Regions from separate parts of the Homo sapiens genome. Here regions 1, 2, 4, 5, 6 and 7 are each linked to region 3. The links are contacts of gene promoters, found by promoter capture Hi-C in blood cells and fetal thymus (Javierre and others, 2016). All regions are on one chromosome and are shown on one strand. Each heading gives the region's core, a stretch centred on a gene start or on the middle of the fragment in contact. The rest is flanking DNA. Distances are from core to core; before and after follow the strand shown.

What was found. Contacts are between HindIII fragments. The CHiCAGO score rates a contact against its expected background, and 5 or more counts as called.
Region 1: the fragment with the promoter of PNPO here is called in contact with the fragment with the promoter of HOXB8 in region 3 in 5 of 17 cell types (neutrophils, naive CD4 T cells, total CD8 T cells and 2 more); the score reaches 10.1 in neutrophils.
Region 2: a contact is called between a fragment that was not itself captured here and the fragment with the promoter of HOXB8 in region 3, in 1 of 17 cell types (neutrophils). The highest score is 5.6, in neutrophils.
Region 4: a fragment that was not itself captured here is called in contact with the fragment with the promoter of HOXB8 in region 3 in 1 of 17 cell types (total CD8 T cells); the score reaches 5.4 in total CD8 T cells.
Region 5: a contact is called between a fragment that was not itself captured here and the fragment with the promoter of HOXB8 in region 3, in 2 of 17 cell types (total CD4 T cells and total CD8 T cells). The highest score is 6.1, in total CD4 T cells.
Region 6: the fragment with the promoter of MRPL10 here is called in contact with the fragment with the promoter of HOXB8 in region 3 in 8 of 17 cell types (activated CD4 T cells, total CD8 T cells, neutrophils and 5 more); the score reaches 10.9 in activated CD4 T cells.
Region 7: a contact is called between the fragment with the promoter of PRR15L here and the fragment with the promoter of HOXB8 in region 3, in 1 of 17 cell types (neutrophils). The highest score is 7.9, in neutrophils.

What each region holds. Positions count from the first base shown.
Region 1 is chr17:47,940,122-47,942,821 of GRCh38, reverse strand. It overlaps PNPO (pyridoxamine 5'-phosphate oxidase), which reads right to left and starts at 1,251. Exons shown (of 7, transcript NM_018129.4): 1 at 1,009-1,251. The coding sequence starts at 1,146. SP2-AS1 (SP2 antisense RNA 1) reads left to right here and starts at 1,418. Exons shown (of 3, transcript NR_103857.1): 1 at 1,418-1,475. RefSeq lists an enhancer at 1,205-1,499. The HindIII fragment of the contact is 3,059 bases long and covers 1-2,401 here.
Region 2 is chr17:48,002,090-48,004,789 of GRCh38, reverse strand. No RefSeq gene overlaps it. Among named protein-coding and RNA genes, the nearest start is that of MIR10226, 29 kb to the left of the region's middle. RefSeq lists a silencer at 1,113-1,407 and an enhancer at 1,148-1,702. The HindIII fragment of the contact is 5,978 bases long and covers 1-2,700 here.
Region 3 is chr17:48,613,963-48,616,662 of GRCh38, reverse strand. HOXB8 (homeobox B8) reads left to right here and starts at 1,371. Exons shown (of 2, transcript NM_024016.4): 1 at 1,371-2,382. The coding sequence starts at 1,959. The HindIII fragment of the contact is 787 bases long and covers 914-1,700 here.
Region 4 is chr17:47,975,314-47,978,013 of GRCh38, reverse strand. It overlaps CDK5RAP3 (CDK5 regulatory subunit associated protein 3), which reads right to left. Exons shown (of 14, transcript NM_176096.3): 6 at 2,677-2,700; 7 at 2,361-2,500; 8 at 2,001-2,145; 9 at 1,192-1,302; 10 at 104-182. Among named protein-coding and RNA genes, the nearest start is that of CDK5RAP3, 5.6 kb to the right of the region's middle. RefSeq lists an enhancer at 2,115-2,615. The HindIII fragment of the contact is 8,194 bases long and covers 1-2,700 here.
Region 5 is chr17:48,041,354-48,044,053 of GRCh38, reverse strand. It overlaps a transcript of COPZ2 not described here. Among named protein-coding and RNA genes, the nearest start is that of COPZ2, 4.9 kb to the right of the region's middle. The HindIII fragment of the contact is 1,467 bases long and covers 517-1,983 here.
Region 6 is chr17:47,830,165-47,832,864 of GRCh38, reverse strand. MRPL10 (mitochondrial ribosomal protein L10) reads left to right here and starts at 1,324. Exons shown (of 5, transcript NM_145255.4): 1 at 1,324-1,405. The coding sequence starts at 1,354. LRRC46 (leucine rich repeat containing 46) reads right to left here and starts at 1,195. Exons shown (of 8, transcript NM_033413.4): 1 at 866-1,195; 2 at 660-765. The coding sequence starts at 875. RefSeq lists silencers at 1,159-1,318, 1,559-1,618 and enhancers at 1,081-1,910, 1,911-2,700. The HindIII fragment of the contact is 9,003 bases long and covers 1-2,700 here.
Region 7 is chr17:47,956,552-47,959,251 of GRCh38, reverse strand. It overlaps PRR15L (proline rich 15 like), which reads left to right and starts at 1,369. Exons shown (of 2, transcript NM_024320.4): 1 at 1,369-1,595. RefSeq lists enhancers at 810-1,755, 1,756-2,700. The HindIII fragment of the contact is 8,015 bases long and covers 1-2,700 here.

The DNA.
Region 1 (2,700 bases), core at 2-2,501, 670 kb after region 3:
CCCAAGTAGCTGGAATTACAGGCACGCTCCAACATGCTCGACTAATTTTAATTTTTTGTAGAGACAGGGTCTCACTATGTTGCCCAGGCTGGAAAAACTGCATTTTAAACAAGCGTTTCTAGAAATGCCCACATGCAACCAGATTTGGCAACCAGGGCCCTGGACCCCAATTCCTAAAAGGTTCTCTTGGTTCCCCTCCTGAGGAGCGAAAAGGAAAAGAACTTCCCAGTGGTCAGCAGAAAGTACTGAAGGCAGTAAGCTAAGAGCTTTCTCCTCCCCTCCTCCCCGAGCTAGTCCCCTTCCCCCATATTCCACTTACTTTTTTGTCAAACAGTTTGTAAGCTGTTTGTCACTGTACCCACCTAAAGAGGGGCCCATGACCATGCCCACCTGGCACAAGGAGGTTTGGGTGACCCCCAAATCTCCTTGCCCCAGGGGGTGGCCCCAGAAGCCCTGAGGGGCTGTTTCCTCCTACTCCCCTCCCCCCAGTAGATGACTCCGAGGACCCCTCTTCCCCCGCCCTTGAGGGAGGCCCAGCACAGTCCTGACATCCATCACATGAAACCCCGATTCATTCATCACTAGCTGTGGGACTGAGCAAGTTATTTGACCTTGCTACCTGTCGAGTAGCAGGGTTCTAAGCACTTTACAAACATCTTAGACCATAACATCCCCGTGAGGCAGATACTATCACTTCCCAGATGAGGAAACTGAGGCCCAGATACATTAAACATTCCAACCCAGGCAGGCTCCAAAGTTCGAGCTCTTACCCATTACGAAAGGCTGCCTTTTGAACCCATCTTCATTTGCGTTTCCCCGGAACTCCTCCCCTGGTGGGATGTCTTTGAAGCCCCCTTTTCCCACGGGGGGTGATCCTCAAACCTCCTTGCCCCACCGGGTGGCCCCAGAAGCCCCGAGGGGCTCCTACTACTCCCCTCCCCGCTGTAGATGACTCCGGGGACCCCTTTTCCCCCGCCCCTGCAGGAGGCCTGGCCCTAGCGGCGGCACCTCTCGGTCCCCGCGGTAACTCTTGCGCATGGGTCCCAGGTCCATGGCAGCACTGCGACCACACAGGTGACTGAGGTAGCCTGGCCACTCGGCAGGTCGCCCGAACGTCGCCGTGACGCCCCGCAGCCAGCACGTCATGGGGGGCCGCCGGCCACGTGACCCGGCTGTGGCCCGGCACTGGGTTCCTTTGAGTTCGGAACCAATTTCTCACCCTGGACTTCTACCCCGGGGAAGGAAGGATTTGCCAGTCGCCCAACCAAGCTAACAGGTCCTAAGTCCTCGGAGCCAATGAGTTTCCAGGATCGGAGGAGGGAGACAGACACGGAGAGGTCATTGGTTGGAGCTTTTCGGTAACGAGGCCAATTAGAGCGAGAACAGAGGAACCCAGCGGCCAATGGGTAGCGCCTTTGGGGGCGGGAGCAGAGAGACAAGGAAATGCTGTCACCGCGGTTAACACGCACGTGGAGGTTGGTTAAAGGTATAGGAGGATCTCTTGCAGCTCAGGCGGGGCGGAGGATGTGTCCCGGGGGCTTGAGGGGAGTAGTCAGTATTAAGTGGCTGGCCCATAGTAGGTGCCTGTAGGTGAGCTTAGGGCAGGAAGTACCCCCTGGGAAGGGAGACTAGTGGAATGGGAAAAGAAAAATGGAAAATGGAATTAGGGGCCAGACTCTGAGGCAAGGTGATGGGGACACATAGAGAAAAGGGTAATCTGGTTGTGGGGAGAAATTAGGGCATGAGAGTGGGAGAGGTTGAAATGACTTGTGGACCATGCCCCGAGTGGGGAGGTGCAGTGGGGTGAGGAAGAGACGGTGAGGTGAGAAGGAAGATGGCTGAATGGGAAGGGGGAAGAAGGAAATTTGGGACCAAGGTATCCCAGACCAGAGTGGTTTTCCTCTTCTAGTTTTGGTTTTGTTTTGTTTTGTTTGAGACGGAGACTAGCTCTGTCGCTCAGGTTGGAGTGCAGTGGCGCGATCTCGGCTCACTGCAACCTCCACCTCCCGGGTTCAAGCAATTCTCTGCCTCAGCCTCCCGGGTAGCTGGGATTACAGGCGCCCGCCACCACGCCCGGCTAAGTTTTGTATTTTTAGTAGAGACGGTGTTTCACCATGTTGGCCAGGCTAGTCTCAAACTCCTGATCTCAAGTGATCTACCCGCCTTGGCCTCCCAAAGTGCCGGGATTATAGGCGTGAGCCACCGCGCCCGCCACCTCTTCTAGTTTTAAACCCCTTCCCTCCAGCCTCATTTATTTAAGCAAGGGTCAGAGCATTTTACTCCCTTTGCTCATGGTTTCCCCTGCCATGGTGCACTGGAGTTCATAGGAGCCAGTGTCCTGGTAGATAGCAAGGCTGCCAATGTCCCATTTCTCCAGGGTCTCCCCAATCTTTGTCAAGCTTCCCTTTTTCCACATTTTGCCCATGCTAGGTAGTAGGAGTCTAGCCCCTAGGTCAATGCAAGCAATTGCCAACTGAGAGTACACTGAGCAGGTGGCTGTGCATAGCCTTTCCAGGCTGTGGATGCAAGGCTGAAAAATGGGAAACCCACTCATGCCCAGTCCAATTCTGAGCTGGCTGGGGCGGCCTTGGGTCGAGACCTCTCTGTAGCCCTGCTTTCCACCAGCATCAGGAAGGGGAACTGCAAGAGCCATCTAGGCAGGCACCCAGGACTGTGCCAGGTAAGGGGAACTTCCTGGCC
Region 2 (2,700 bases), core at 160-2,659, 610 kb after region 3:
CTGTCATCCTTAAAACTGCTCCCCTCGACCTGCTGGGCTCAAGTGACTCACTCACCTCAGGCTCCTGAGTAGCTGAGACTACAGGCATGCACCACTTCTGGCTAATTTTTATATTTTTTGCAGAGACGGGGGTCTCATCATGTTGCCCAGTCTGGTCTCGAACTCCTGGGCTCAAGCTATCTGCCCACCTTGGCCTCCCAAAGTGCTGGGATTACAGGCATGAGCTACTGTGCCCAGCCTCGGGTATCTCATGCAGTATTGAAGGAAACAGACCTGGCTTTGAATCCTAGTTCTATCAGTTGCAAGCTCTGTGACCTTGGATAAGTGGCAAAATCTCTCAGAGGATCCATTATTCCACTTGTGAAATGGGAATAATTATACCCATTCACACAATTTTTGTAAAAATTCAACAAAATAATGCATGTAAAGCTCTTAGCCAATGACTGGCAAAGTAAGTGCTCAAAAGATGGCAACTACTGCTCCTAGGGCTCACCTTTGTTTGTGCTAAGTGGATGAAGCAAAAGGAGATGGCAGGGGTTAAGGGAAACACACCAGAAAGGAGGCTCACAGAGGAGATGCTGAAAGGGATGGATTTGGTTAATGTAGGACAGATGGCGGAGAAGGAGGAAGAAGACGGGGAGAAGGAAAGGGGAAGGAAAAGGCTCATTGGAGACTAGCCTGGCAGAGTAAGAGAGAAAGTTGGGATGCACAGAACAAGACAGAGCACGGGAAAGGGATGGACAAAGAGCAGATGGGAGAGGAAGACAGAATGACAAAGACGCGGAGGGCGGGGGAAACCCAGCTGGTGTGAAACAGACAAGAGGTGCTGGAGAAGACAGAAGAAAAAGAGAAAACCAAGGGGTGGGGGGCGGTGTCAAAATGAGACAGGGAAGCAGGGGCAGGACAGACAGACTGAGAGCGAGTTGGGAAAGCACAAGACGGACAGACAGATGGCAGGGACAAGAGGGTGCCCTGGGTTGCCTGCATTCTGCTGTGTTTACCAGCTAATTGAGTTAAATTGTTGTCAGAGATGTAATTAAAGGGTAGAGAGAGCTCTCTGGCAGGCCCGAAACAGATGGAGGGGGCTTTAATTGGTAATTAAATTCTTCCCTGGCAGCTGAGGAAGGAGCTTGTGCTTCAGTCTCACAAGGCCACGGGTGGCCTTCCCCCCACTCCTGGCCCCTCTCAGGGGCTCTTTGGGGAGGGGGCTGGGCCCTGCGCACCAGCAGCCCGGCAGGCGGCGAGGCCTGGTAACTGCAGGAGAATGAATGCCAAAGCGACCCTTCTTCCCTGCTGGGGCTGGCTCAGCTCCCATGAGCGAATCCAAGCACACCCACCCCCGCGCCTGCTCCTCCCCAACCTCCCCACCCTCACCCACCAAACTAGCATTGACCGATGAATTCCTACGTGGCCCCCATTGCTTCACTTGGGATCCCAGGGAAGAATAGTGGGGCTCTGGCCCTGCAGCCTGATCAGCTTGGGAAGAGTTAGTTGGTTTAGTCAGGGACCCAGGCAGACCCATCTCTTGGCATGGCTCCCACGAGTCTGTCAGCATCTGCCCCCCTCCCCCTTCCAGGAGACGCTGTGCAGAGATTCTATTCTGCGTGGCACATCACTGTCTGGCGCTGACTCTGCTTCCATCCTTCTCCACCCCCTGCCCTCACCCCCACAGCAGCAAATAAGACAGGGATGGGATCAGTCACCCTGATGGGCAGATAGATTGGTTAGATGCTCTAAGATGTGGGCATTCAGACTAATCAGCTTTCAATTCCAAATCTCAATTTGACCTTAATTTCATTGGAGAAGGACCCTTGGGATGGCAGATTTCCCTGAAACCCACAAATTCTAGACGTGATCCATTTCAAAGAAAGAGATAAGTAAAAAGAGAGCACAGAGGCAAGGCTTTTTAAAAGAAGGCTGAACAGGAAGTTAGGCAGAAAGAAAATCCAGGGCAGACATTGTGGGATTATTGTAAAATGCATGGCTGACTATGAGTCAGCAATACAGTGCTATTCTTACAAAAGCAAGCTGCATGCCGGATGCATAAATAAGGAACCTGGGGGTCATTCTCATTATATCTCAGCTGATCAGACAAAAGTTCTTTGTCTTGCTCTGGACTCCAGGGAGCCTAGAGAGTCACAGGCGAGTTTCAAGGGGTTTCTGGGAGAACTGTAGAAATGACAGAAGGATTTGTGAGGCAGAGTGCCCGACTGTATGAATTTTCACTCAGTTTGTCAAGCATTCTCTGTTTTTTTGCCTTCAGCCCCACATATGCTGGTCTTTCTGCCAGGATCTTTGCTCTCCACCCTCCCTTCCACATCCTTGGACTAACTGCTACTTATCCTAAGTCCGCAAATTAGCACTCCTTTCCTTCTTTCCCCTCCCTCCCTTCCTTCCTTCCTTCCTTCCAGTTGAGTCTCACTCTCTTGCTACATGCTGGAAAGCAGTGGTACAAACACCACTCACTGCACCCTCCACCTCCCAGGCTAAAGCAATTCTCTTGCCTCAGCCTCCTGAGTAGCTGGGATTACAGGCACACGCCACCACACCCAGCTATTTATTTTATTTTATTTTATTTTATTGTAGAGATGGGGTTTTGCTATGTTGCCTAGGTTGGTCTCAAATCCCTGGGCTCAAGGGATCCGCCTGCCTCGGCCTCCCAAAATGCTGGGATTACAGGCATGAGCCACCATACCCGAC
Region 3 (2,700 bases), core at 122-2,621:
AGCATAGGACAGCGGACACGAAGGCCAGGTGCCAGGGCCTGATACCCAACCTTCTTTCCTTTTGATGCAGTGATGGGCTCAGTGGTCCCCTCTCACCCTTAGGCACTGCAGAAGGTGTGGGGGTCGGCCTGGGAAGGTTGGGAGCTATTAATAATTGGGCTTGGCTACTGGGTCCCAAGGCCTGGGTGCAAGTGTCGGGTAGCCCATTGGGGCTTCATCCCTCTGATGGCATCAGGCCCTCTCCCTTCATGCAAAGTCTGCCCTCAAAAGTGCTGATGGGCTGAAGGGCCTTCAGGAGACCCCCTTTTCAGCAAGCAGAGAGTGCACAAACCTGCAGAATCGGCAGTGGCAGCTCGAACTTTGCTCTGTGCTTCAACCACTGCTCATTAACCAGAAAGTTTCTTCTTCCCTCCCGTTCCCTCCTCAAGATCTCCCAGATCCCTGTTTCACAGAAAATTTTTGCTTATTTGTTTAATGAGAGGAAGTTTTGTGACTGGCCAGGGCAGGGCAGAGAGGGCAGGGCAGAGAAGGGACCTTTTGGGGGCTCCAGAGAAGGGGTGGGGGCAGGTGCTTGCCAGGACGGAAGGAGGTGAAAATCTCAGAAAAGTCACCGTTTGTGCCAAAAAAAAATCCCCATAATCATTCTCATTTCGGCTTCGTCACCCCCACCGTGCTGCAATCGGGCGGCGGGGGCGATCGAAGCTGCAGTTTTATAGCTGTAGAGGAAAGAACTCGTAAAATGCTAACAGCTTTTATGCGCTGCGGCATAAACAACAACAGACTCCGGCTTTATTGCGTTTTATAGTTTCTTAAAGAGTTTACAGCCGTTTTTTGGGGGGCCGGTTATCCAGCCAATTCCCTCCACACGATAGTTAAACCTTTATCAATAATAAGGAAATTGATCATTAAAGCTTTAAATATGACTACCTCGTTTGTTTGAAAATACGTTTAGGAGAGGAAGCTGTATGATTTGATAACTTGTATTAAAATACCAATTACATTTATAGGACCTTTTAAAACTCGGCGCAATTAAACCGTGTTCTTTTACATTTTTCCGAAGCGACCCTGACATTTAGAAAGACTCCAATTGCCTCGTTAAAATCGCGAAATTAACAGCGTGCCTACGCCTGGCGCGTTGTGTATGTGTGTGTGCGTGTTTTTTTCCGTGACTCCCCCACATCAGTCTTTGGGGGTGGTCTGCGAAGGTATTTGATTTGTTGTGAGGCGAGAGATATCTCATTAATGTAGGTAGTTAAACAGATTTAATCCGTATTCATTCTCTCTCACCCCCTCTCCCTCTCCCCCTCTCTCTCCCCCTCTCCCCCTCTCTCTCCCTGGGTGTTTTTTTCTTCCCCTCCTTTTTTTTTTTCCGCTCTCTCCTCACTCCCTGGCGCTCTCTCGCTCTAGCTCTCTCTCTCGCTCGCTCTCTCTCGCTCTCACCCTCGCTCTGCGTTCTGTCCGGGAGGAGTACGAAGAAGCCAATAGGATGCGGGGTCTCTAATGGATGCAAATGATCATGAAAAGACAGTGCAAAATATGAAACAACTCATTTGCAGGGAAGTAAATCACCGAAAACTGTTTATGAACTGGCATCCCTTCTTCGAAATGTAAAGCGAGGACCTCTTTAAGTGGTGGTATATTTTTGTTTGGGGGGTGGGGGGTGGGGGGAGGGCGAGCGAGCCGCGGCTGCCATGCAAGCTTAGACTTTTGGAGGCTTCTCTGTCCTTTTCTATTCCTGGAAACCACAAAAAGTGTGTCGGCTTCGAGATCTTCTTCGCCTTTTCTTTCTTTTCTTTTTTTCCCTCCTCTCTTTCCCTCTCCTTTCCTGGCGAGGGTGACTAGGAGCCGGCGAATCCGCGTTTTTTTCTCTCTCTCCCTCCCTTTCCCCCTCCCCACCCCCTCCCCAACAGCCCCCAACTATAGCCTCCGCCGCCGCCGCCGCCTCAAAATTCAATAAAATGAGCTCTTATTTCGTCAACTCACTGTTCTCCAAATACAAAACCGGGGAGTCCCTGCGCCCCAATTATTATGACTGCGGCTTCGCCCAGGACCTGGGCGGCCGACCCACCGTGGTGTACGGTCCCAGCAGCGGCGGCAGCTTCCAGCACCCGTCGCAAATCCAGGAGTTCTACCACGGGCCGTCGTCGCTGTCCACGGCTCCCTACCAGCAGAACCCGTGCGCCGTGGCGTGCCACGGGGACCCCGGCAATTTCTACGGCTACGACCCGCTGCAACGCCAGAGCCTATTCGGTGCGCAGGATCCAGACCTGGTGCAGTACGCAGACTGCAAGCTTGCCGCCGCCAGCGGCCTGGGCGAGGAGGCCGAGGGCTCCGAGCAGAGCCCGTCGCCCACACAGCTCTTCCCCTGGATGCGCCCGCAAGGTGAGCTCGCCTCGGGGCCGACAAGGGCAGGAGGGGGCCGGAAGGGCCCAAGGCCTGGCAGGCCGGGGCGCATTTCCTCCAGCTTCTGGAAGACTTGCCGGCTCCGTTCCGATCGCCTGCCGCTTTTCCCCTTTCTTTCTTATCTTTCTTTCTTCTTTCTTTTTTCTTTCCCTTGAAGGGGGTCGCTTAGAAACATTTCCTGAATCTATAAACCCCTCATCCTGCCTTACTTTTCTTCTTCTTCTCCTCCTTTTTTTCCCCTTTTACTGTTTTATGGGGGGTAGTGAAGAGAGGGTGGTGGGAGTGGGGGCGCTCAAC
Region 4 (2,700 bases), core at 115-2,614, 640 kb after region 3:
TGTGCAAGAAGCCTCATCTTAGCGCTGCATTTTTTGTTTCTAGACACGTGGGGGCCCTTGAGCACCCCACTTTTGCCAGGGCTGCAGGGGATGGTGCACTTACCCTGGGTTCCTGCTTCCAGCACTGTGATCTGCAAAGCAACAGCATCGTCTCCCCAGTCTATCCCATCACCTCCAGGATCCTGGAAGGAGAGCAAAGAACCACAGCAATGGGGGGAGAATTTTCCTGAGCCAAGGAGCCAGAATAAACCAAAGCCCTTGATGAGGTCAATGGCTGCACATTCCAACTCTATTAAGGATTTGCAGCCCTGACTTAGGTGCCAAAAATGGCAGTATGGCCCATCATCCCTGCTCTGTAGTGTTCCCACCTGCCTTTACCCCTACACCCTGTACCAAACACCAAGAAAAAGGACATCAAAATTTAACTCTCACATGGGCTGGGCGCAGTGGCTCACGCTTGTAATCCCAGCACCTCAGGAGGCCGAGGCAGGTGGATCACCTGAGGTCAGGAGTTACCAGCATGGCCAACACGGCGAAACCCTGTCTCTATTAAAAATACAAAAATTAGCCGGGCGCGGTGGCTCACGCCTGTAATCCCAGCACTTTGGGAGGCTGAGGCGGGCGGATCACGAGGTCAGGAGATCGAGACCATCTGGCTAACATGGTGAAACCCCATCTCTACTAAAAATACAAAACAATTAGCCGGGCGTGGTGGCGGGCGCCTGTAGTCCCAGCTACTCAGGAGGCTGAGGCAGGAGAATGGCGTGAACCCGGGAGGCAGAGGTTGCAGTGAGCCAAGATGATGCCACTGCACTCCAGCCTGGGCGACAGAGTGAGACTCTGTCTCAACAAACAAACAAACAAAATAAAAAATTAGAGGGGTGTGGTGGTGGGCGCCTATAATCACAGCTACTTGGGAGGCTGAGGCAGGAGAATCACTTGAACCTGGGAGGCGGAAGTTGCAGTGAGCCGAGATTGCACCACTGCACTCCAGCCTGGGCGACAGAATGAGACTCTGTCTCAAAAAACAAAACAAAACTCTGACATGTGACGTGTGAAACTCTGCCTCCCTTGGACTATACCTGGTCTTAGAGCTATGAACTTCAAGTGATGCCGTTACAGACACAAATGACACTTTTCTTATGGTTAGAGTAGTGATCAGAGAGAGACAGACTGAGAAGGCCTCCTCACCTTTGAATCTGATTCCGGGAAGATGCCCCAGTCGATTCCAGCAGCCTCGGCAGAGATGCCAGAGTCAGTCCCCTCAGACACTGCCTCTACCCCAAAGTCGCCCCAGTCAATCTGGAAAGGGAAAGAGAGTGTTAGCTCATGGAAGATGGATTTAAAAAGGGCCGGGCATGGTGGCTCATGTCTGTAACCCCAGTACTTTGGGAGGCCGAGGATAGTGGATTGCTTGAGCCCAGGAGTTTGAGACCAGCCTGGGCAATATGGCAAAATCCTGTCCCTACAAAGATGTTAATAAAAAATTAGCTAGGAGTGGTGGTGCAAACCTGTAATCCCAGCTATCTTGGAGGCTGACTTGGGAGGATCGCTTGAGGCTGAGAGGCAGAGGTTGCAGTCAGCAAGGATCATGCCACTGCACTCCAGCCTGGGCAACAGAGCAAGGCCCAGTCTCAAAAATAAATTAATTTAAAAAGGAGGGTGGGGCTGCCTTCCCACAGGCCTCAGCTGCTTCTGTAGAGAGCACACTGTTCAAATGCAGTGGCCTCTAAGCTACCCCAAAGAAAGCCCATCTTCAGAGAGCTCACATGATGGAGGTTCCGAGTTCAAAGCGAACCACCTTGCAAAGCCTCTGTGGCACTCACTCACCTATACTCAGAAAAATAAAGGAGTAGGGCCTCCTGGGCCCTTCTACCTACAGTCACTCTCACAGAAATCCTCCCTTCTTCTCTCTGGGTCTTGGGTTGGGCTGTTGGGGGTGGGGAGGGGACAAGCAGCTCCCACTCCACTCCTACAGCTCATCACAAGGCCCATCTTACCGCATCTTCTGCCACCTGCTCAGGAAGCTCCTCGAGGTGGGGTCGTTCCACCACAGAGGGCTCTGTCCCTGTCCTCCACTCGTACACCGTTGAGTTTCCCCGCTTCTGCACGAACCGCAGCATTGGCAACACCTGCTCTGTGGGGCTTCAACAGAGCACACAACTGACTCTCCTGCCGACCATGCGTAAGGCCAACACTGGGCTTTGGCCTGGGCCACATGGTCAAATGGGCAAGGCCCCCACAGGTTCAGGTGTGTAAAGAGTTCAAATGTTATATGGGAACAAGACAACTGGAGAAGGGTCATGAGCTGGGGAACACAGGCAAAGCACCCCCACCAGGAGAAGCTGAGGCCTCTCTACCTCTCACACACAAACCCCACAGACGCCTGGTACACGTCAATGGCTTCCCCCAGGGACTGCTGAGCCGCTGCCCCAATCTCAGCCAGCTGACTCGGCAGGTCCTTCACCAGGGCCAGCAGTTCTCCTCGGACATTTTCGCCCTAGAGAGGGGAGAAGAGGTGGAGTCCAACAGATTGAAGAAAACATCCAAAGACCGAAGAAAAGTAAGACACTGGCCCAAAGGGGGTGCAACCAGGCTGAGGGGTCAGACGGGGTCAGAGGAAGACAAGCAGGGGCCCAGGTGTCCTCTGGCTGCGAAGAGGCTGCCGCCGCTCACCGTGATGCCATACTGCTTGCAGGA
Region 5 (2,700 bases), core at 1-2,500, 570 kb after region 3:
TAGGGTGTGCTCATTCTCAACCCTAAAATGTTCTTTCTTCACCTCTACAATGAAAATGCCTCATTGTTCATTAGTGTCTTAGTGTAACATTTTTTGAAGCTGAGTTCAACTGTCCTGTATGTCTTGCTATGTTGTCTCAAACAATACCAGGTAGTGTTCTTCATATAGCTCTGTGTGACATGTCACACTCAAGGAGCTGCCATTAAGAGGTAGGAGGAGTGGATGTTTTGGACTCATAGGTGGGTTCGAAAATCTGGCTCTGTTTCTTACTAGTTGGGCCATCCCGAGCTAAATGGAGATAACAATGTACATATTCATAAATCTTAAAAATCAGGTCATGTGTATAAAGCCATTCATGCCTGGAGGAAGAGCTGAGTATAAGGCCCTGTCTTGAATAATCCTCTCTCCACCCACCCTACAACTTTATCTCAGAGAAAGCCAAAGGCGATGAAGAAATGAGAGCTGTCCTTAGAATGGTCTACTAGAAACCCATCCTACAGACAGAGCATGGAAGCTTTAGTTTTCTCTAGAGGATGCCACCAGTACACACTTCCACGCCTCATATTCCACACACACCTCCCCCTCTTGACATTAAGCAGGAGGGATAGAGAGAGGCTGGTACCCAAGGGAGCTGTTTCTTCTCGTCACATAAGAACAGATGCTGAAATCCTAGGACAGACAGCACAGAAATGTGGCAGCAGGAGGGTGACTCAGAGGAAATGAAATGGTCTCCCCTTCAAGCTATACCAAGGCCCAGAGGAGAACCTGCTTTGAATCACCTGCCTCCTGGGACTCCAAAGGGCAGGGACCAATTCTGAGTGCACTACTTCACAGGTTCCAGCTGGGTAGGGATGTGCACAGCCCACCTCTCCATCCTACTGTGCCTACCCGAAGGGAGTAGAGGGCAGAGAAACATGAAGGCTGCATTCTTTTTGAACCCAACTTGGCTTCCTCGAGCTGGGGAGGCTCTCCTGCCGAGTCTGCTGCTGCACGTGCATGCTTCTCATGTGCTGCCAGCCTTAAACTGGAAAGTCCTCTTAGGGCCATGCTCTGTGGAAGACACTGTCCCAATACTGGACACACATAGCTCACATGTTTATGTGAAACTGCATTAAAGGTGCACTTCAGGATGTGTGGGGAAGCGGTTGTCATGGAGAGAAAGAAGTTCTGGGGTCTCTGTTGAAGGAGTTTGGGGAGGGGTTATCATTGGGGAGAATCTTGTCCTTGAAAAGTTGAACTTGGCTCTGAATTTACTTATTCACCACTAAACTAAGATGTAAAGAGATTTTATGGGCCAGGCACGGTGGCTTACGCCTATAATCCCAGCACTTTGGGAGGCCAAGGTGGGCAGATCACTTAAGGTCAGGAGTTGGAGAACAACCTGGCTAACATGGTGAAACCCCGTCTCTACTAAAAATACAAAAATTAGCCGGGCATGGTGGCACGCACCTGTAATCCCTGCTACTTGGGAGGCTGAGGCAGGAGAATTGCTTGAACCCGGGAGGCAGAGGTTGCAGTGAGCCGAGATCGTGCTACTGCACTCCAGCCTGGGCGACAGAGTGAGACTCCATTTCAAAAAAAAGAAAAGATGTAAAGAGATTTTAAGAAGAGGAACAACAAGGCCAGGCGCGGTGGTTCACGCCTGTAATCCCAGCACTTTGGGAGGCCAAGGCAGGCGGATCACCTGAGGTCAGGAGTTCAAGACCAGCCAAACAACATAGTGAAACCCTGTCTCTACTAAAAATAAAAAAAATTAGCTGGGTGTGGTGGCGCATACCTGTAATCCCAGCTACTCAGGAGACTGAGACAGGAGAATCGCCTGAACCTGGGAGGCGGAGATTGCAGTGAGCCAATATCACCCCATTGCACTCCAGCCTGGGCAACAAGAGTGAAACTCCTTCTCAAAAAAAAGAAAAAAAGAAAAAGAAAAAGCAACAACAGTGATAGATGTGGGGGTGATGAGAACTTTGTGGTTCCTAAGCTTCCTTCCCCAGCCTTCTCTCATTCCTATCCCCTTGGCCCCTCTCCAGTGCCTTCCCATCCCTAACGTGTATAACTGACTCCTTCCCCACCTCCCCTATGGAGCCAGCCCCCTAAGTCCCCTATCTTCCCAGGTCTTCCTCTGTCCCTTCTGGAGGCTGCTGGTCTTTCATAGTGGGTACCATAGCCAAACAGAGGCTGAGAAATGCTCCTGGAGGCTTTTTGGTGCTGTCCTTGTAAATATGAGCCAAAAAAAAAAAAAAAATGGACTAGCTCACAGAAATATTAAGACATCAAAATAACCAAATCAGTATTTTTTAGAAATAACATACCCAGCCAGCATGACCATTGACATAACTTCTGATGATCTGGAATCCGAAGAAATAAAATGCCCAAATGCTGGGTCTTTTCCCTGGCTGCTGTTATCAAATAGTGTCATTATGTTCCCTATTATAACTGATAGCCTGCAAGAAAGGTTCAGATGTGCCTTCTAAGTCATCATATAGGGAGGGTCAGTAGATGCTTCCTCAGATGTCTGCATGGCCTGCTTCCTCCTTTCCTTTAGCTCTTTGTTCAAATGTCACCTTGTTAAAGGTTTTCTCAGAGGACTATGAAAATGGCTTTCTGGCTTGCCTGTCCCTTACCCCTCACATTCCACATCCCATTTCTGCTCTATTTTTCTTTGCAGCACTTATCCCCAACTCATATAATATCTACTTT
Region 6 (2,700 bases), core at 75-2,574, 780 kb after region 3:
TATTTGGGAGGAAGTTTCTATCAGTGAATGCCTGATTAGATTTGTTATTTAAAAGGATCACTTTGGCTACTCAGGAGGCTGAAGTGGGAGGATTGTTTGAGGAGTTCAAGACCAGTCTGGCCAACAGAGCAAGACCCCATCTCTAAAAAAGTAATTAAAAATACTTTACTTTTTGTTTGTTTTAGAAATAGGGTCTCACCCTGTTGCCCAGGCTGGCATGCAATGGCATGATCATAGCTTACTGCAGCCACAGGTACCTGGGTTCAAGTGATCCTCCTGTCTCAGCCACCTAGGACTACAGGTGTGCACCACCATGCTCAGCTAGTTTATTTTTATTTTTTAGAGATAGGATTCTGTCTCTATTGCCCAGGCTGGTCTCAAACTCCTGGGCTCAAGTGATCCTCCTGCCTCAGCCTCCCAAAGTGGTGGGTGTGTAGGAGAGAGGTGAACACGGCCTTATCTAAGACAGTTGAGTGAGGATGGTGAAAAAGAAATGGAATTATTTTGAAGAAGGGAAAATCAGCTGGGCATTACCACTGATTGAATGTGTGGAGTAAGGAGAGAAACAAAGATCAGTTGACAAATCAGTACACGTCAGGGACCTGGTCATCCTGAGTGTTTCAGCCTTCTAGCACCCCTTTTCTCCCCCATGCACTCACATCTTCTCTGACAGTTCCCCATCTTCAGGGAAAGTCAAGTTCCGCTTAGTGATAAGGGCTTCAGTGATGCAGACGCCCCCTTCCTCTGGACCCTGGGCTGACTTCCCTGTGAAAAGATGAGTCCAACTGTGACACTTCCTCACTCTTGGAGGCCTTACCCCGCTGTTTTCCAACTGCTCTACCCACCGTCCCACCTCCCTACTCACCTCCAGACATGATCTAAAATAAAAGGCTGCTGGTCTGAGGCGGGAGAGGAACGAAAAGAGAGGTCTTGGCGGCCCCTAAGGATGGCAGAACTCAGGATGGCAGGAGGAGAGAGAAACTCAGAGACTTAGGAGAGGAGGAAAGGGGGTTGATTCAGAGAAAATTGCTGGGGTGAGGTCGAAGAAAACAGTAAATTGATGTGAAGGGTCTGGAGTTTGAGGGGTGTGGAGGGGCTTTGCTGGCAGCAAGCTGGGGTGTTGTGGGCAGGAATGGTTGAGAAAGGAGCAGTTCCTAGGAAGCCGGAGTCGTTGCTAAGAGACTGGACGCCGAGTGGGGAGGTAAAGGCGGGCTCCGTTGGCCCGGCCTAGCGCATGCGTCTTACGGCTACAGCCGGCGGGTACGCCCACTGCTTCCGGCCCCGGGGTTCGCTACCCCACAATCCTTAGCTCTTTCCGTCTCCACTCGGCTTCCGTCCATTCTTCCGGTGGAGATGGCTGCGGCCGTGGCGGGGATGCTGCGAGGGGGTCTCCTGCCCCAGGCGGGTAAGGAGTGGCCCAGGTCCTCACGGCGTGTCTTGCGGCCGCTCTCTAGTCCTCATCTGCCCTCCTCTACTACTGATTCTTCCCATAATCTCTGACCCCAGCTAGATCGCTGGCCTCCTTACCCCGTCCAGTTCCTTGTGACTCGACTGGTAATCACAGCAACAACGTCCAGATGTTGTCTGTCTCCAGCGTTTCTTTTGCCTGGACCACTCCTCGCCCAGACCTTTGCATTATGTCTCCATCTTAATGTGTCAGTCTAAATGTCACCTCAGGTCTTCCCTTGACTCCTTAGCCCCGTCGCAATCTGTAATTTTGCATTTGTTTAGTTGCTTGTTTCCTCTATTAAACTCCGCAAGGGCAGAACCATGTTCATTCAGCATAGCCAGCAGGTGGCATGGTGCTGGATGTTAGTAAGCGTGCGGTAGATATTTGTTTAGTGAATGGATTTGAGCACTTAATATAGGCCAGGCACTGTGATAACTATTTTTATATGTGTTAGCTCATTTAAATCTTTTAAATCATTTAAATCTAAAGCACCCTGTGAGAAAGACATTCGCATCTCCTCTTTACAGACGCAGCAACTGAAGTTCAGACCAGTTGGGTGGCCAAGGTCACAGCTAGTAATTGGCGGAAGAGAGATTAAAATCCAGTTTCGGCTGGGCGCGGTGGCTCACGCTTGTAATCCCAGCACTTTGGGAGGCTGAGGCGGAGGGAACACCTGAGGTCAAGAATTTGAGACCAGCTTGGCCAACATGGCGAAACCCCAACTCTACTAAAAATACAAAAATGAGCCGGGTGTGGTGGCGCGTGCCTGTAGTCCCCGCTACTCAGGAGGCTGAGGCGTGAGAATCGCTTACACCCAGGAGGCAGAGGTTGCAGTGGGCCGAGATCGCATTGCTGCACTCCAGCCTGGGCAACAGAGCGAGACTCCATCTCAAAAAAAAAAAAAATCCAGTTTAATTTGATTCCAAAGCCTGCCTGCAGTCTTAACAGTTAGGTTTTGTGGCTGCTGGCAATAAGACCTCTTACCCCAGCAAATATCCATACTCTCTGACTGTTAGAGCCGCCTTCTATCTGGACCTTTTTCTGAGGTCACATCCCAGTCTTGGAAATGACTGAAAGTGGGAAGTTCTAGTCTTGGCCCTTGTGTTGAGGATTAAGTGGTCACTTTGTCTCAGGGCTTTTGAGTGCCTCCCTTGTTTTCTGTGGGGTGCTCTGTAGCATTATCTGTAAACAGGAAGAGAGGAGGAAAGAGAAACTTGTCTGAGAGCTGTGAGAATGGTGTAACATTTTTT
Region 7 (2,700 bases), core at 120-2,619, 660 kb after region 3:
GTAACTTAGAGGGAGAGCCAGGGAAAGGGGGGATTTTATGCCTTTTCTCTACCCCGTGCCTCACCCTTTGCCTGACACGCACACCTGGTCCATGGAGGAAGGTAGCTGGTGGGTGGATTGGGCACCTAAGCTGGTAGCACTGGGCCCAGGAAGTGGCAGAGACACTGAGTATGTAGCAGATGTTTTCCACTCTCCAGCGATGCCCATCCGAGGGGAGAGAGAATGCAAGCGCAAATAGGACAGGCCACCTCCGGGTGGCTGCAAAACAACGCTCCCCAGACACGGAGCCATCTGCAAGAGCAGCCCTGGCTGAGCGCTGCACACAGCTTGGCCAATGGTGGGTTTGCAGGGGCAATGAGACTGCAGATCGGTGAGGACGAAGGCCCCTGTGCACACACACTCTACCCCTGTCCCCAACCGTGTGCCCATCCCCTGCCTTCTTGCCCTTCCTTCTCTTCCAGACTCACTAGGGACCCATCTCTCCTTTCCTTGAGAACTTGCTCCAGGTTTTGCCAACTTTATAATACCCAGGAAGGCCCTTTCAATAGACTGCTGGACATCTGGGAGGAGTTGAAGCCAGTGGCACTTTGCTAGTGGGGACACTGGCACAGGTCTCTTTGAGAGTCTGATAAAAGTATAATCTATGCAGAAAAAGCAATGCCCCTCTGCCCACAAACACGGAATTCTGCATAAGATCTCAAGGGCCTTGAAGCCCACCTCCAAGCAAAGTGGGAGAGGGATGACAATGTTTGAGGTTGTGGTGGGTCTGGAGAGCCTGGCCCGAGGAGAGGCTGTGCCCTTTTTTTTTTTCTCCCTAGGGAGATTTTTGAAGAGGGGCTCTTCAGGTCAGGAGGAAGCCACAGCCCCCAACCCAGTCCCCACTTTGAGGCTTGAGGCAGGGGAGGGACAGCCTGGGAACCGGTCTGCCAACCAGTTTAACCGGGACTGGTTTCGACTCAGGGAGTTCAAAGGAAGCTGGGGTGCACCCCGTCCTACCCAGCCTGCCAATGGAAGCAGCAGCCCTTAACTCTTTCCTGGTTGTGCCCTGGGCAACATCCAGGTGGTGGTCCATGCTGGAGAGGGGTCTGCGCCTCCTCAGAAGATGAAATGGGTGGGGTGACCCTGGCTATAGCTGGGAAGTGCAACCAGACACCCAAGAGTGGGGAAACTGAGCGAGAGCCTCCTGTGCTCCCTGACCCCAGATCTCCCTTGGGATTCCCTCCTCCTGCGTGGCGGTCCCTGGAGAACCCTGGCTTCTGGGTGGATGCAGGGGCGCTGGGATTGGATTTCTGGCATGATGAATATTCATCAGCTTGAGCCGGCCTCTGCTTCTGTTTACTTAGCCGGGAGGGGCTGGGTTTCAGGTTCACCTTGACTCCAGGAGCTGCAGCAGAGCAGGTAACAGCTCTTGCACCTGTTTCTCTTGCACCTGACGTGCAGCTGCTCCTACCCACCTCTCCTGGCTGAGCCTTGCCTGATACAGCAGCCCGGAGGCACCACTTGCTTCCCGAGTCTCACCCTCCCAGGCAGCTCCTACACTCAACTGCTTCTCTAGGAAAGGTCTCACCTCCAGCCTGGAGCAGTCGGGATTACAGGTACAGGCAGAGGGCTGGTGGGTGGGGAAACCAAGGCATAGACCCCAGTCAGAGCACCTGGTTCTGCCTCCAGGGCTGACAAGCCCAGCAGGAAAGAGGAACCCAGGCCTCTAACCTGGTCTCCACTCAAGACTCATCCCACTGGCCTCTTGGAGTCAATCCAGGCCTCCAACAGAGCTCCTGCTGAGTAGTTTTCTGTTAACCCTTGCTGAACTGGAGCCCACCCTTCTGACCCCCCAGTCTGGAGCATTTTTCCAGCTGTCTGGTAGGAACATCTCCCCATTCCTATCCAGGGTACCCCTGTCTCATCCTGCAGGCCCCCTAAGTGCCATTGGGGCCCTGCAGAGGGATGGGGGAGGGAGTTCTGGGGTTTTGTCTTACAACATATTAGCTGACTTGCTTCCCCTATCTGTCCCCCTGCCCCTCCACCTCTGCCCCAGTCAATGGTTAACTTGACCCAGCTCAGGAGGGGCCTGGCTCAGTCTGGGCAAAGCCCTTCAGAGCAGCTCACAGAACCCAGCTGGTATGGAGGGGCCTCTCCTGGGACACCCATGTGCATGCTATAGCGCTGGCCACCAAAGACAGGGGGTGGCAGGCTGTCCCATGAGGCCTTTCATGGCCCCAAAGCTGTGCAAACAGCAGAGGTGAAGCTGGCATCCTCAGGGGCTGATTTCCATCATCCCTGGATTGCAAGGCCCCAGGGCAAGGGCCCAGCCCTTAGCTCGGCCAGCTCAGGAACCTGCACGAGCTAACTGCAGGGCCCACCATGTGTCACTAAATGCTGGGTCTGTTTGAAGTCCCAAGCACCTGCCCCCACTCCCCCAACCCCTTTCAGCCCTCTGTGGTGAGGCACAGGCAGGCGGTTGTAGATATCTTGTTCTTTGCAACTTTGAGAAACTGGGAAGTTTGGATATCACATCACCTTTTTTGTTTGCTTGTTTTTAAAGCAAATCAGATTTTACACTATCTTTTATGATGACTATTTACAGATCCTACAGCTGGGTTATTTTGTAAAACAAAGAATAGTCGGCTAATTTTTCCATTTTGCAAACTCAGATTTCCATAAGTCAGGCTTGCTAATGGGGCAAACACCTGCTTACTGGTC